Linked DNA regions of Homo sapiens: region 2 is linked to region 1. The links are contacts of gene promoters, found by promoter capture Hi-C in blood cells and fetal thymus (Javierre and others, 2016). All regions are on one chromosome and are shown on one strand. The core of a region is centred on a gene start or on the middle of the fragment in contact, and the rest is flanking DNA. Distances in the headings are between cores, read along the strand shown. Region 1 holds the start of TGM1 (transglutaminase 1). Region 2 holds the start of LOC124903292 (a long non-coding RNA gene).

Region 1 (3,359 bases), core at 562-3,061:
GTACTGATGAGGAAACTGCTGTTGAGACTTGCCCAAGGTTCTTGGCCGGAGCGCTTCAGCACTGAAACCAAAGTTGTCTCTACCCTTGGTCTAGGATTCTAGACTCATGTTCTTGCTTCTGTATTGCTAAGGAATGGTTGGGCAGCGGCCTGGCCTCAGCTCCTTGAGGTCCTGAGCTGAGTGTCTGCTCCCATGGTGTCCCCCCACACATACCATGTACACACCTTGTCCTGACCTAGAGAGTCCTGAGTGGTGGTGGGGGGAGGGGACTGGCTCAGGGGTTAGGGCACTGACTCAAACCTGGCTGGGTGGGGAGAGAAAGATTGATTAAAGCTAGGGAGAGAGTGTGACAAAGGCATCCTACTGGTTCTCTGGGATCTGCCTGGGCCCACATGTGCTCACACACGTCCGGACAGCCAGGGCCCTGCCCCTTCCCGTATCTGCAGTGATGCACAAATCCGCAGCCCCTGCACAAAGCCCTCTGGCTGACCTGCCTGGAAGTTTATATCCACTGGTGTGTCTACTGAGGGTGTTGGAGGTGGGGCACCTGCCCCCACCCCCGGGCAGGTTCTGGTGCTTGGAGCTGGACAAGAAAAGGCAGTGTGGGTGTGGAGGGCTCCCTGCCAGTTCCTGGGGCCTCTCTGTCCCCACTCCCCACGGCACCTCCCTGCCTGATGCATCACCAAACAGCCCCTCCTGGATTCTGTTTCCTTGTGTCTTCTTGTCGGCCTGTTTTTACTGTCTTCTGCTAGGCGGCCCATGGGCAGAGCTGGGACACTAGTGGGAAGGAAGGAAAGAAGGAAGAAGGCCCTGGCTGACGGGCCTGAGGACAAGACCCAAGGAGAGCCTCCCTGAAGATGCCTAGCCTCCTCCTCTCTACCTTGGGATCGCCTTGGTGCCATCCTCAGTGTTTCCCCAGTGACGGGGTGGAGTAAGGATGCACACAGCACAGGTGCCTGAGCCGGTTGGTCTGGATTCCCAGGAAGAATTCCAGGTTGGAGAAAAGGGAATCCTCTAGTCCAACTGAGCAGAGACTCCTCTCAGTGAGAGAAAGGTACTCTGTACCCCTGGAAGGGGGACTCAGTTCCCACCCAAGCCTGAGTGGAAAGGCCTAAACATCCCCTAACCCCCGAGGCTACAGCGGGGGTGGGGGACGTGAAATGAGATTGCTCCTACTCTGATCTCCCTAATCCCAAACTTGAGGGCAGCTCACTCATGCCTGGGGCTGTAGAGCAGCTGAGAAAGAAGGGACAGACTTGGGGGTGGAGGGAGTCAGAATATCTGGTAGAGCCAGCAGGTCAGGGGTTAGCTGGTGGAGCCAGTCTGAGGGCCTGGCTGCTGATGTCACCAGTCTGCAACCTGGGATCCCAGGACCTCCCTGGGCAGGATGAGTTCCAGGACCAGGCCCCTGGGCCAATTTCATAGGGCTGAGCCTGGCTTGGGCTGCACAGAACTCGGCAGCAGGAGCCTGTGAGAGCAGAGGTAGGCAGCCTAAGCTTGGGACCAGAAGGTCGGCCAGACAGGGCTGTGGGTGGAAGGGCCTGCCTGCCCCACTGCCCTTGCAGCTTCTTCATCCGGGAGAAGGGGCTCCTCACATGCCCAGTCTGGTAGGAATCAGCCTGGTGCCAGGGGCCATCACAGCGGTGGCTCCCACCAAAGCCCAGCCTAAGCCCCCAGACCTCACCCCTGCTCCCTCCCTAGCATCTTCTCCCCATTTCCCGCCCAGAGGCCTGGCCTCTTCTCTCCGCCCCCTACAGCAGTTTGGCCCCTCCCTCCCACATAAGTCACTTACCAGGTCTGTCCCTGCGGCATCCAGTCTGTGGGTCCTGTCCCATCCATCCTGACCTGTTCCATCTCAGCCCCAGGACTCAGTACTGCGGTTGCCAACACTGCTGCCAGGTGAGGGGCTCCCACGGGTACTGTGGTGCCGAGTCCAGGCGGCCCACACTATCAGAGGCCGTGCCTGGATCCAGCAAGGTGGGGTGTGGGCCAGCTGTGTACCTGTCAGCCCCAGCTAGGCTGTTCCCAACACCAAGACTCTGCTTTCCCTGTGCACAGGCTCCGGGCACCTGCCATGCCCTACCCCTCCTGGCAGCCCCAAGTGGGGTCTTCCCTGACTTGGGAATGCCAAGGACCACAGGCCCCGGGGTCACTTGTCTGTCTTGTGAGGAACCTTGAGTTGGGGGATTTCTGCTAAGAAATGAGTTCTAGAAGCTGTCAGTGTTGTGCACCTCTAGACTGCAGAGCTAGCAGGTGGACGGACCAGGCCCAGGGATGCTGGAGCACTCTGATGTGTGTGCAGCTGGGTCTTGAGGCTGGGACAAGTGTCCATGCAGGGAACTATGTGGATTTCCTGGGATGGATCGTTGAGTGGGTTTCTTCATTGGGCAGTTTTTCGGATGTTGTTTGGTGGGGGTGAGGGGAAGGCTTTTCTCTGCAGCATGAGAAGCTTCTCTGGGTGAGTCTGAATGGTCTTCGCGGAAGGTCTCTGGATGTGTCTGGAGAATCTCTGGGCCAAGGTGGGATTGTTTCGGTCATCGGGTGGGACTGAATCAGCTGTCTGGATGGAGGGTTTCTGGGTCAACTGGCTGGGACTACCTGGGTTAAGGAGCCACCCTGCCTCTTCCTAACAGGCATGATGGATGGGCCACGTTCCGATGTGGGCCGTTGGGGTGGCAACCCCTTGCAGCCCCCTACCACGCCATCTCCAGAGCCAGAGCCAGAGCCAGACGGACGCTCTCGCAGAGGAGGAGGCCGTTCCTTCTGGGCTCGCTGCTGTGGCTGCTGTTCATGCCGAAATGCGGCAGATGACGACTGGGGACCTGAACCCTCTGACTCCAGGGGTCGAGGGTCCAGCTCTGGCACTCGAAGACCTGGCTCCCGGGGCTCAGACTCCCGCCGGCCTGTATCCCGGGGCAGCGGTGTCAATGCAGCTGGAGATGGCACCATCCGAGGTGAGGCCGGTCTGTCCTCCTCAGCTGAGAGCTAAAAGGCTTTAATGGGACCAGAGACTCAGCCTGGCATTTCTGGGGGGGATAGGAAGCTAATGATAAGGGCCTGGGCTCCTCATGGGGCTTCACTGACACGGAGCTGTGTCCTTGCAGAGGGCATGCTAGTAGTGAACGGTGTGGACTTGCTGAGCTCGCGCTCGGACCAGAACCGCCGAGAGCACCACACAGACGAGTATGAGTACGACGAGCTGATAGTGCGCCGCGGGCAGCCTTTCCATATGCTCCTCCTCCTGTCCCGGACCTATGAATCCTCTGATCGCATCACCCTTGAGTTACTCATCGGTCAGTGGGGCTTGGATTGGGACGGGTGAAGGCCCTATGTTTGGTGGGGAGAGGCTGGCATTAGGG
Region 2 (3,380 bases), core at 454-2,953, 130 kb before region 1:
GAACAATGTGTTACCACTGAGACTGGCAGGTATAGGCAGGAGGGAGCCTACAAAGTTTCTCAGAGGGAAGTGGCACACTTGGATTAGTATTTTCTGCACAACCAGTTCGCTCATTTCTCCTTGTCTGACCCAAGAATGTGTCCATATCTTCTGAGTTTCATTTGGTTCAGATGCTACAGACACCTCCCTGGCCCAGGCTACTGAAATGACTTTCAAACTGATCTAGCAGCCACCAGACCATTCGCCTCCCTCACCCCTATTTGGCTCTGAATCCAGACTCCTAGTTAATTGAAGAGCATCACTTGCTCTGTGGCATGAGCTTACTCAAACTTTTCTAGTAACTCCCCAGCAGTGGTTTCCCATGTAATTATCCATAGAACCCATTTGGTGATGGCAGTTGAATACAGTAGTTAAAAACAGACTCTGATATCGGTAGCCCAGAGACTACTACATCCTAGCCCTGGAAATCCCAATTTCCTCACCTTTAAAAAGCGATAGGTGGGGGTGGGGGCGGGGGCTCACGCCTGTAATCCCAGCACTTTGGGAGGCCAAGGCGGGCGGATCAGGAGGTCAAGAGACTGAGACCATCCTGGCCAACATGGTGAAACCCTGTCTCTACTAAAAATACCAAAATTAGCTGTGTCTGGTGGCGCATGCCTGTAGTCCCAGCTACTCGGGAGGCTGAGGCAGGAGAATCGCTTGAATCCGGGAGGCGGAGGTTGCAGTGAGCTGAGATCGCACCTCTGCACTCCAGCCTGGGCAACACAGCAAAACTCCATCTAAAAAAATAAATAAATAAAGCAGTAGTGGGGAGGCCGAGGCAGGAGGATATCACTTGAGGCCAGGAATTCAAGACCAGCCTGGACAACAAAGCAAAACTCACCTCTACCAAAAAAAAAAAAATTAGCTGGAGTGGTGAGTGCCTGTAATCCCAGCTACTCTAAAGGCTGAGGCTGGAGGATCATTTGAGCCCAGGAGGTCGAGACTTCGGTGAGCCATGATCATGCCAGTGCACTCCAGCCTGGACAACAGAGCAAGAACCCAACTCTTTAAAAAAGAAGTGGTAGAGACTATGATGGGCTAGAGATAGAACGTCCAGTCTAAATGGCACAGCAGTTACTCAGCTCCAGTGGCTTGTTGCCAAATCTCCCCATTGTTAAGGAAAAAATATTGTAAACTTGACGTTTATGTGAAATCTAATTTTGTTTCGCTGTAGCAGCTGTAGTAGACTGCAACCTATGGCCACAAATTCCTCCCATCTCTATCTGCCCACCCTTTACAATGGGACATTGCTGCTCCCCCATCAGAGATGAATTCTATTCCCCCTCCTCCCCGTTCTAGCCTGGCCTTGTGACTTGTGTTGGCCAATAAGATGCAGTGGGAGTAACATTTGTAACACTGAGTCGAGACCTCAAAAAGTCTTGCAACTTTGACTTTGAGCCTCTTGGAATGCTCTGTTCTTGTGTAAAGAGGCCCAGGATAGCCGGAAGGAAGGAAATTGAGATACCGGCAGAAAGAAGTCGCATGGGCAGACAGAAGGAAACTCATCTCAGCCATTCCAGCCGCCCCAGCTGAGGCTTCACACTTGGGAGTGAGGCTGTCTAGGACCAACTAGCTAAACTGCCATCTGAATGCAACCACATGAGTGTGCCCAGGTGAGACCAGGAGGAGAATCACCAGGTTAAGCCACAGAACTGTGAGGAAAAGTAAATTATTGTGGTTTTAAGCCACTAAGTTGGGGTGATTTGTTACACAGCCATAGATAACAAAGAGAAATAATTAAGGCATCTTGCCAATCAAATGCCTCAAGTCACCAGTTAGTGATCTCTTAGGTGTGAACTGCTTGAGGACAGGAATCATATCTTGTTGATCTTGGTATCCTGAGTGCCTACCATTGCCTGATAATTAACACATAGTAAATCCTTTGTGAACAAATAAATGGAGCTGTAAGAGGAGCTCCTATCACAGCTGCAGCAGCCTTGAGGATAGGGCTTTATCGTATGTGCCTTTCTAATCCCAACAGGCACTAACATTTTCTCCTGCAGTTTCTATAATCCTGTGTTAGTCATGGTTCTCCAAAGAAACAGAACCAATAGCAGAAACAGAGAGAGAGACAGAGAGAGAGATTATGGGAATTGGCTCATGTGATTATGGAGGTCAGGAAGCCCCACAATCTGCTGACTGCAAGCTGGAGAACAAGGAAAGCCAGTAGTGTAATTCAGTCCAAGTTTGAAAGTCATTTCAGCAGCCTGGGGAAGGGTGGTGTCTGTAGCATCTGAACCAATGAACCTCAAAAGATACGGACACATTCATGGGTCAGACAAGGAGAAGTGAGTGAACTGATTGTGCAGAAAACACTAATCTATGTGTGCCCTTCCCTCAAGAACCTGGAGCTCTGATGTCCGAGGGTAAAAGAAGATGGACGACTGGGCTCAAATAGAGATAATTTGCCCTTCCTCTACTTTTTTGTTCTACTCAGGCCCTCAATGTATTGAGTGATGTGGACCCACATTGATGAGGGAAGATCTTCATTTAGTCTACCAATTCAAATGCTAATCTCTTCCAGAAACACTCTCACAGATGTACCCAGAAATAATATTTTACCAGCTCTATGGGCATCACTTAGCCCAGCCAAATTGACACATAAAATTAACCATCACAAATCCTTATTAAAAAAAAAAGTTTGCTCAATGATGAAGTAGTGCAAATAGAATAACGAAATGGAGTGGCTAATGAACAACGGAGCCAAAAAGAATTGTGACATTTTGCTACATGTTGGGAGAACAAGAGAAGTGTTTGCCTTGACCTAATGGAACCTCAAAGAAACAATAGGGAGTCTCGATGGAGGCAGAAAATGAAGTGTAGCCAGATCCACCCCAAACTGGGAAACCCCAAACCAGGCAGGACTATGAGCAGTAGCCAATGGGTGCTAAGTTAGGAAGTGTCCGAGTTTTGAGGATGGAGAAAATAATACAAAAACAACACAAGATAAAATTGAGGCTGGGCACAGTGGCTCATGCCTGTAATCCCAGTACTTTAGGAGGCCAAGGCGGGCAGATCACCTGAGGTCGGGAGTTCAAGACCAGCCTGGCCAACATGGCAAAAACCCACCTCTACTAAAAATGCCAAAAAAAATTAGCCAGGCATGGTGGCATACACCTGTAATCCCAGCTACTAGGAAGGCTGAGGAAGGAGAATTGCTTGAACCCGGCAGGCAGAGGTTGCAGTCATCCGAGATCGTGCCATCGCACTCCAGCTTGGGTGACAGAGTGAGACTCTGCCTCAAAAAAAAATAAATAAATAAATAAAATAAAATTGAAATTTACCTACTCTGTCTTGGAAAAACCTTTGATGCTAGGGACTGGGGGTTGGCAAGGTAC

Evidence for each region. The method cuts DNA at HindIII sites, captures the fragments that hold promoters and counts their contacts. A CHiCAGO score of 5 or more calls a contact.
Region 2: a fragment that was not itself captured here is called in contact with the fragment with the promoter of TGM1 in region 1 in 2 of 17 cell types (naive CD8 T cells and total CD8 T cells); the score reaches 5.5 in naive CD8 T cells.

The regions. Positions count from the first base shown.
Region 1 is chr14:24,261,629-24,264,987 of GRCh38, reverse strand. TGM1 (transglutaminase 1) reads left to right here and starts at 1,811. Exons shown (of 15, transcript NM_000359.3): 1 at 1,811-1,899; 2 at 2,634-2,954; 3 at 3,105-3,293. The coding sequence starts at 2,636. RefSeq lists an enhancer at 1,328-1,336 and promoters at 1-1,823, 206-1,872, 2,433-2,628, 883-2,636, 1-2,636. The HindIII fragment of the contact is 953 bases long and covers 1,499-2,451 here.
Region 2 is chr14:24,387,420-24,390,799 of GRCh38, reverse strand. LOC124903292 (a long non-coding RNA gene) reads left to right here and starts at 1,391. Exons shown (of 3, transcript XR_007064086.1): 1 at 1,391-1,655. The HindIII fragment of the contact is 9,848 bases long and covers 1-3,380 here.